Regions from separate parts of the Homo sapiens genome. Here all the other regions are linked to region 3. The links are contacts of gene promoters, found by promoter capture Hi-C in blood cells and fetal thymus (Javierre and others, 2016). All regions are on one chromosome and are shown on one strand. Each heading gives the region's core, a stretch centred on a gene start or on the middle of the fragment in contact. The rest is flanking DNA. Distances are from core to core; before and after follow the strand shown.

Region 1 (3,202 bases), core at 55-2,554, 750 kb before region 3:
CTCTCCTTTTTCAGAAAAAGAAACTGATGTGTGTGTGTGTGTGTGTGTGTGTGTGTAATTTTTAAATCTAGTAACTACTTGTCCAAACATAGGTCTGGCTATTTTCATAGTTCTACATTATAGCATCTTCTTAAGAAAAATTTTAAGATTTATTTCTTCATGGAAAGCTGTTTTAACCTAAATTTTGAAAAGAAAACAGTCTTCAACATTCTTTTTGTGTTCTAAAACCAGAGAAAGTTAGATATTCTTGGCATAAAGCAAAGGTTCAGAAATAAACTTTAAGAAATATACACCAAGTGCCCTTTGAAAAGCTTTGCTGTCTTCCGCCTTCTGAATACATGTATGTTTAAAACCCATAGAAAGTCAGTGTTGGCCCATGGATCATACAGTGATGCACTCACTTTTTACTCTGGGCAAGTCATTGGACTGCTTTAGTAATTGTTGGTTTTATTTTAAAATTTAAAATTAACATTTGCTTCTGGGAACTCCAAAGATGACTACACAATATAACTGAGATCATTTATTAAAATTATCAATAATTGTGAAGGAATGACTAGGGCTAATTCAATGTGTTTATTATATTTAACTATCTCACTGGAAAATGTTCTATGACTCTGGAAGTTTTCAAGAAAAGATTGAAAAAGAATCTTTTCACATCTACAAACTCCCTCACCATGTACTCCACCATGTACTTACACCACCAAAGTGGAGATCAGTGACAGTAGAAGGAAAGTCTTTCCTAAGCCAGAAGAAATAGTATTGTCACACGTTTTTCTGTCTAAATTGCAATACACCCCATAGCTTATTAAAAATAGATGAGTTAGTTTCATCAGATAAAATATAAAACTGATTTTTTTAAATCAAAACTGTTACACTTTGGATATATGAAATTGTTTTAGAAAAAAAGGAAAAGTGTAGCAAATGAAGGAAAAGGCAGTTGCATTTTTGGAGATTGTCACAAGAGGGCATTTATGGATTAACTCTACGTTTTTTCTACATTTGAAAATACTGAAAGGCATTTCCAATTCTCAGAAGCAAACTAAGAATAATTAATTAATTAAAAATGAAAAGATGAAAAAGACAGTCTCTAAAATTTTTCTTTTATATTAATTCTGCTCCAGAAAATTGGTTGTTTTTTAGAAGTTTGCATCAAATGAAAACCGGCACGTATTTATAAATTTTAGATGTGAGGAACTCATTTCTCCAAAATATTGAGATCCTAAAAAATAATATCAGCTGAAAAAACTACTTATATTTTGTTTCTAGCATTTGTTTGTATACCATTGAAAAACAAATATTTAAAATAAATCCTATTATTTCAACTGATAAAGGGTAATTGCATTTTTAAAACATGATTTTCTCCTTTGTGCTGAAAAACAAGCTAATTAATATTCCTAAGTATTTTGAAAACAGGTGCCATTTAGAGAATACGGGCACAAATGTCTTAATAAAATAATGAAAATCTTAGTTATATTAAGAAATAGGCAAATTAAATTACTAGAAAGAGAATGGTATGGGGCTCAGTTAAGGGGAAATAAATAAACTGAAGCAAATGCTAAAATATTTTTACTCATGATATCTTGAGCCCTTTAAAAGCAAGGCCTCTGATGTATTCATCTTTGAAACCCCAGTCCTAGCACGGTGGTGGGCATGCAGTAGGTACTCAGTGAATATAGTTAAATAAATAAATGAAACCATTTCTTTAACTGAGGATAAATTTAGAGGTGGCAAGGCAGAAGAATTTTCCGTGATTATTAATTAAATCAATGACTTTCTTATTGCATTAATTGATGTGAAAACTTCAAATGCAAAGGGAAAATTTCATTCAATCACCTGGGGCTTTCAAATAACTGCCGAGTTGGTGCCATATAAACAAAACATTAGGAGAGCTAACGCGATCATATTTAATCCTCAAGAACAAAGAAGATGCAAATATGGACCAACACTGTGTTTTATGCAATTTGGGAATCCTGGAACTACAAAACTCTTCATGATTATTCAGTCTATCCCAATAACACCCAACTTATATCTTTATGTAATTTTTACCCAGTTTATCTAATAATTTATAATTTTTTCAGCAAAAACAAGTAATGGGCTATTAGAGTTTTTAATAAACATCAGATAATCATTGTCATCATGTGATTTTATTTAATTTCAATCAAAAGTAAAGAGAGGTTATATTTTAGATAACCTGCAGTCTTTTTACAGGAAAACAATACAATTTCCTTCAGGCATTTTAACATAATTAAAACACATTTCAGATTTGTTTTCCTACTTATGCTAAAGCACAAGCTTTTGAAAACCATTTTCATTATATCATACTCATGAAAGACAGTAAAACTTGGAGAAACAGTTATTTGGGTTAAATAGCCCTGGATTCAGAGGTTAGCTCCAATAATTGTTGGGAATATGGTTTTCTCTAAAACCGTTTTTCATCTATGAAACTGGGATAACATTGCCTGTTTTGGTAGATCATTCTAGGTAGTAAGTTTTAACATATGTAAATTGCCTGATAAGTAGGAAGTAGTCAGTAAATGCCAGACTTTATAACTAAAGAATCACAAATTTTACAATCCTTGTTGAGAAATTTGAGAGTGTGGCAGATATAGAAATGGTCACATAATATTGTACATACACCTTTAAATTTCTCATGTACCCTTGCAATGGGTTGGGACCATGAGAACAGTTCTGACCAATTGGCTATGGTTGGAGGGATGTATGTCACATTCTGGCCAAGGAAGTGAAAAGCTATGAGCCCCTTGATCAGTATTTTTCTCTATCATGGTGGCCCTTGAAGCATGTTACCGAGATGGTGGTATCTCAATACAACAAGGCTTTCCATATCTGGGTCACTGATTGACTAAATGCAGTAAAACATTTGCAGACCAGTATTAGACATGTGCAAGATATGAATATTTGTTGTGTTAGGATATTTAGGAATTAGATTACCACTACAGCATACATAGCCTAACCTGACTAATAACATGATCTAACCAAAACACTTCATTTTATTAATAAGGACAGTAACGTCCAGAGAAGTCAGTTTGTATAAAAGCCAGTGGAACCAGGAGGCTGAGGCAGGAGAATGGCGTGAACTGGGGAGGCGGAGCTTGCAGTGAGCCGAGATTGCGCCACTGCACTCCAGCCTGGGCGACAGAGCCAGACTCCGTTTCAAAAAAAAAAAAAAAAAAAAAAAAGCCAG
Region 2 (3,241 bases), core at 265-2,764, 790 kb before region 3:
TGCAAATTTCTACTTGCCTTCTGTGGGCTGTAATTCTGAAAAAGGGTTCAGTTTTTAAAATCTTTGCAGTGCTATTTGGATCTGTCTTTTGTGTGCACCACCCAGTATCAGTTTAGGACCCAGGTAGTTTACCCCATAATCTAGTTCTCAAAAGCTTTGATAAGCTGCTTAGAGTCAGATCTAGGTATTATAAACTGAGACCGAGCCCAGAAGTTTATACCCAACTTCCGGAGTTACTTTCTTGAGCTCCCTCCTCTCTATGATCTTCCTGATACATTCTGTTTTTCAGAAATCCCTTTTGTGATCTTCTGGCTAGAAAGCCAGGGATTTAGATTTTCTACTCCTCTTCATAATTACTATGACTCTGAATTTCTCCAGGACCAACCAGCAGGATACATAGAGAAAAAGTAACAATGGGGCACCTTTCATACTTTTGGGACCACAGTTCATCTGGCAAAAGAAAAGGGTTCCCTCATTTAGAGTTATTAGTGACTGCCTGACAGTCACTGCCACTGCTGTCACAGCTGTTTCAGGATTGCCTCGGTGGCTCGGGTGAGAAACAACAGTAAAGGGAGAAAAAATGACAACACGAGATTTCCCCAGTCTCTCTCACTCCAGTGGGCCTCCTTTCTGCTCCTTAGTCAAGAAATAGAGTTTCTCTTGGAGGTTTTCCTGCTGACATTCAATGGGCACTCTCACATTTTAGGCTGTCGTTGAGTTCATTCCCAGAAGATGTTAGAGAATTAGAATGGGCAATTCATTGCTGATTTGGTGATGATTCAAGTTCTGGTTTCTTTATCCAGTAGGCCTGCTACCATTTAATCTTCAGTATCCTCGGATAGCTGCCCTGTGCAGTATGTCGAGGGCTTTTAGTTGCATTTGGGGGAAGAGACAGGGTGGAATGTGTTTACCCAATTTTGACTGTAACCAGAAACCAAAGTTTAGATTTCTCGAGTCCTAGTCATCAAACCAATCTTGAAAGTATGCTTTAGTCTAGAGCCTAATATAAATGTCCAAACAATAATTATATGTAACACTTAGGTAGCTAAGGTGCCAAAAACTCAAGCATTTCATTTAACCTTTGTCATAATTCTATGAGAGTTTGGTAGACGTTCTATATATTTCCACAAAAGATAAGTGAACTCTGGTACAAAGATATTAAGTAAATTGCCCAAGGTCACATAGCTAATTGCTAATGGGGTCAGAATTTGAACCCAGGTACTCTGCCTCCAGAGTCCAAAGTGTTAATCACTACACATGTTCTAAGTTCTCTATTTTGTTTTGCTTTGTTTCAGCATACATGATGTTGCACACTTCTGGAAAAAATTTGAACCTGATTGTTATTACTACTGGCTTAACTTATATTACCCCAAGTATAGGGAGAAATAAGGATTAGTTGACAATGAGGTGATATTACTACTTCTGAGATGGGCCAAGGAAATACTCTGGGAATCAAAACAATTTTAAAGCCCCATTGATACTTTTTTTTTTTTTGAGACTGAGTCTCTCTATGTCGCCCAGGCTCGAGTGCAGTGGCGCAATCTCTGCTCACTGCAAGCTCCGCCTCCCGGGTTCACGTCATTCTCCCACCTGAGCCTCCCGAGTAGCTCGGACTACAGGCTCCCGCCACCTCGCCAGGCTATTTTTTTGTATTTTTTTAGTAGAGACGGGGTTTCACCATGTTAGCCAGGATGGTCTCGATCTCCTGACCTCGTGATCCGCCCGCCTTGGCCTCCCAAAGTGCTGGGATTACAGGCGTGAGCCACCGCACCCGGCCGCCCCATTGATACTTTAAAATGTGTGTTATATCAGCTGAATTTATTCACACAATTCTCCTCCCAACCCCCAGATTTTTAACCTCTAACGTTAAATAGAGAAGGTCATAAAGAGAGGTTTCTGCAGGAATCATTCACTGCTGAGGAAAAAAAAGTTTCTTAATTAAAACAATCAGTAGCTTTCACGTATTCATAAAATTAACTTTCTAATCAAGACACTAAACTAGTGTTATAAAAAGTGAAATCTATGGAGTAGGGCTGGTCATTGGGCACTACAAAATAAGTACAAAAATTGAAAGTAAATGCTTAGGAATATTTAAAACAATTTAGTAGAGTAATTGTATGCTGTTGAATATAATAATAAAAAAATTGGAATTGTATTTTATTGTCCTTTTTATTTTATTCTTATAGCAATTCATTTTAGTATGTTTTCCAAAAGTATAACTATGCAATGAATTAGAAACTTTTTTAAAAGTGATTTTTCACCACAACCAATTTGAGTCATGCTACACCAAAGCACAGGGCCTGCCTTCCTATTTTAAGAGATCCAATGGCAACATTAATTAGAACACAGGATCCTTGACATGGTTTTCTTTCTTCAACTCTTCTTAACATTTCTCAAAAGTGTGCAGGGAATTTTACGTAAGACTGTGTTTATTTGTAAGAGACAAAGGTCTGGCGAAGGATCACAAGAGCTCATTCTGAATCTGCCTCAAAGCTGGTGTTTATACTCATCATTTCTTCTCCTTCAAATTTAGGCTTGGAGAGTAAGTCCTTCTAGTTGCGTAGGAAGGGCCTAACAGCTGCTGTAGCAGGTGTGAAACACTGAGGCCCAGAAAGGTCCCTGCCTGGGGTTTGTGGGGAGCCAGAATATGCCACCCTAAAATATGAAGAATAGGTGAGTTGAAGACAAAAAGCAGCAGATGCAAGAAAGCTCTCTGCTCTCCTCTATTTGTCTAAAAGCATGACACACATTTACAAACACAAAAGGTATCCTGCCGCCTCTTCTCCCAGAGAGAACAAGATTAACCACTGAAGATAACTTTGGACCTTTATGGTCCTGGAGATAGCACAAGATACATCTGCATTAACAAGCTTCACTAACTTTTATCTGCCAATTACTTGCCTTCCCACAAGTTGTTGCCCCAAGAAACTCAAAGTCTTTTTCCTTTGCCTTGTCATTTATCTACGAGTTTACTGTTCCTTGTTGAATTTGCTATATAAGCTGGAATTCAAAGCCACCTCTTTGAAAACTACTCATTCTCTGGATGTCTCCTATGTATATATGAAATATACATGTTAATATACTTCTGTGTTTCTCTTATTAATCTGCCTTTTGTGATAGGAGTCCAGTCCAGCTAAGAACCGATGGGGATTATGTTTCCCCTACAGGTTTCTCAGGCGGTTGGATGTCCCTTTGGAGCACCATAGCGCTGTACTCTCAAACCTTGCAAGATAAAAAGGAA
Region 3 (3,161 bases), core at 302-2,801:
CTGGCGCGTGCTCTCAGCCACTCTGGGACAGAGAGGCTCTCGAGCGTACTACCGACGTCTCCTAAGTGTGCATTAAGAATCAATTATTTGCCTGAGATTTCCAAAGCCAGGAACTGGGATATTCCCAGCAGGGACAAAGTCAAGCCCAGAACGGTGTTCATTTCCCTAGTCTTTCGAAGAGACAGAAGAGAAGACTCCCACACGCACCCAGTGCCTCACCCGACCCGGAGCAGCCCGGCTAAATCCGACCGGGACCCTGGTGTGACCCAGGCCAAGGAGCTGGGGGCGGAGGGCCAGCTCTGGGGAAGGTTGGCTATGTTAGTGTGCAAATAGAGAAGGGCGATCCAAAGAAGAACTTTAGAGAGAAGCAGGTTCTTGGCTCTGGAGCAAAGAGCTTTAACTGAAATAAGGATAGCTAATAAACCTGTCTTTGAGCGTTAAGAACGTCCCGGAAGTTCCTGTAGCAACCATAAGACTCAGAAATCATATTTCCACGAAATGAATTAATTTACACTTTAGGACCTATTTCAGTCTCCCACTACCCCTTCTCCGTATAATTTTTTCTCGTTTTCTCTCCATGTTCCTTTGCCGTGTCTACATCCTTTTGACCTGGGGATTCACCGTGATTTCTGTCAACGTGGAAAAAAATTATGCATCCTTTCAGCTACGTCTGTTGGTAGCGAGCCTGCTAACATTTTCTAAGAAAAGATGAACACTTAAGGCCAGGACCCCAAAGTCAGGCGTTAAAACTCAGTCCAAAGCAGTCAGTTACACATATTCCCTACCCTACCCCTTCCCCTCTGAAAAGCACTTTCACTTACGGATCTTGCTGTAAGAGCCATTCCAGTCCTGATATCCTTTTCCTCGGCATCCTTCGGACAACCTCAGGCAGAGCCTTAGGTGGTGGGGAAAAACAAAAACAAAACACAGTAGAAATCGGGAGGGAGACAAGAGGCACAAAACATAACAATACATCATCTATTTGCCAGCCTGGAGCCCCCTTGGCCTACATCCTCAGGATAAGGTCCCTAGAACTGACCGCTAGGGTGGGGAATGGGTGCCTTTGGGAGCCAAAATCTGAGGTGGGTTATTTTAACTGCTAGTGATTGAGGGGAAAGGGCCCTGAAGGGAGAATAGAAAAGGGGAATGATTGGTATAGAGAAAAGAAATCTTAAAAAAAAAAAAAAAATGCACGCAAAAGAAAATCTAGCATGAAGTACTAACTGGGAAAGATCTCTAGCACCTTTTAACTCTTACAGGTAGGTAGCTCTTAGGAAGAATGCAGACGTGTGTGCCCAAAAGAGAGAATCTAGATGACCTCTATTCTTTCCATATCTCCAGGATCTGGACTTAAGTAGAAAAATAAAGAGGGGAGAATTTTAATTCAAGTTTCACCTACCCTGCTTGTTGGAATGGCTGCGCAGATTTTCATGCTGGAGAGTTCCATCTGTCTGGCAGAAGCTGAAGTGGTGTTGGGGGCAGGTTATCTGGTGAAGTAGGAATGTACAGGAACCCCGCCCTCTAGGCACAGTTACACAACCCCAGCAACCCATCTCAGCCAGTTCTAAAACCTCTAATGATCTTCACCTTCACCCTTTGTTAGTCTAATTCTCCAACAGGCTTTTAGTCTCAAACACAACCAACCACTTTAGCTGTTCATAAAATTAATTTCTCAAAACCAAAATTTTCCCAGTGCATGCAAATTCCTCAACAATGTTGTAGAAAATACACTTTTTAAAAAACTACACTTCTATAGACTTCTAAATATATTGAATTTATCCACGTATTTGGGTGAAATATGCACCAACTTAAATATATATTAAAATCAATACACTATGAGACTAAATTTTTGCCTCTCTGCCTTTGATTTTATGCAAGTCACATAAACTACATGAAGGCTTCCATGACCATAAGGATATTTGTATTAAACCTTGTTAGTTCTAGACTTCATGTTCACTTGGTTCCCAATTTTGTAACAGGCTGAAGAAACATATTTGAAATAATACTTTAACTCCTCTAGTTCAATTACATCATTTTCTCAGTGTTTTACATATTAATATTTTTTGTTAACTTTACAACAGACAAATTCAAGTAAAATACTTTAAACCTGGAAATAAACTTTAATTTGGGATTTCAAGTTTTAAGTTGTGATCAGTTTCAGTTCCAAAATTTCACAAAGGACAACCTTCATCTTATTAAAAACAATTATAATATGAAAGAAAATAATCCTCAAAAGTTTTGAAGTGTATTTCTGACATAAACTAATTTTAACGGTCAAAGTTGGAGACAACAAATAACACAACATTACAACCCGTTCGATGCAAAAATGTATTATATGCCATGCCAGACTGTCATGTGTTTTTTGAGAAGATAAGTTGAGGGATGATAAGATAGATCAAGGGAAATGAGATGTTCATATTGGGCTTCAGGAAGCCTTTACAAAGTTCTCTCTCCATATATCCACCTTCGTGTCTAGTACACCTAACAAACTTCTAGTCATATCCATTATATGTAATTTGGACATGGGTCCAAGCAGAACTCCCACTCCAATACTTCGTTTCTATGAATTCAAAGAAATCAGTTTTACTCTTGACTTCAAAGTATGATGTTTGCCATTAAAATTCTATTTATCTGTCACCCAAATAAACACTTATAAATACAAATAAGTATACTTATTTAATGTGGCCAAAAAAAATACTCATGCAGGAAAACTTTCTTCTATATCTATACCCCTTTACCTTAGCACAAGAGTTCAACTTTCTTTTTAACGTTTGGTAAGCAAAATTCTATGTTTCCCCTGTGATAATACATTCTTATTCCACAAATAAAATCCATGGCAAAAGCAAACAATAAATCATCACCTTTTTTTCAGCTTGGACACATGTCTCTCTTTGAGCTATTTTGGTTCAAAATGTGTAATGGGGATTTCCTTTGCATAAAACCATTCACTTGGACTTTATTACTATTTTTAATATCAGCCATAAATTTGACTTTTAACACAATAATTTTTTGTGAAATATTTTTATGCTTCATTCTGAAGAACTTAAATTTCAAGAAAATTTGGACCTCTGGTGAAACTGTTTTTATACTAAGAAAATAAAATCATGTCTAATTGCTTAAAGGAGATAATTAAACTAGCTGTCTTGGCTTATTTTTGTCCA

What was found. The method cuts DNA at HindIII sites, captures the fragments that hold promoters and counts their contacts. A CHiCAGO score of 5 or more calls a contact.
Region 1: a contact is called between a fragment that was not itself captured here and the fragment with the promoter of LINC01551 in region 3, in 2 of 17 cell types (endothelial precursors and M2 macrophages). The highest score is 25.8, in endothelial precursors.
Region 2: a fragment that was not itself captured here is called in contact with the fragment with the promoter of LINC01551 in region 3 in 2 of 17 cell types (M0 macrophages and M2 macrophages); the score reaches 5.6 in M0 macrophages.

The regions. Positions count from the first base shown.
Region 1 is chr14:29,516,286-29,519,487 of GRCh38, reverse strand. No RefSeq gene overlaps it. Among named protein-coding and RNA genes, the nearest start is that of PRKD1, 410 kb to the left of the region's middle. The HindIII fragment of the contact is 1,981 bases long and covers 314-2,294 here.
Region 2 is chr14:29,556,384-29,559,624 of GRCh38, reverse strand. No RefSeq gene overlaps it. Among named protein-coding and RNA genes, the nearest start is that of PRKD1, 370 kb to the left of the region's middle. The HindIII fragment of the contact is 2,716 bases long and covers 157-2,872 here.
Region 3 is chr14:28,771,094-28,774,254 of GRCh38, reverse strand. It overlaps LINC01551 (long intergenic non-protein coding RNA 1551), which reads right to left and starts at 1,551. Exons shown (of 3, transcript NR_026731.1): 1 at 1,400-1,551; 2 at 822-895. The HindIII fragment of the contact is 5,790 bases long and covers 1-3,161 here.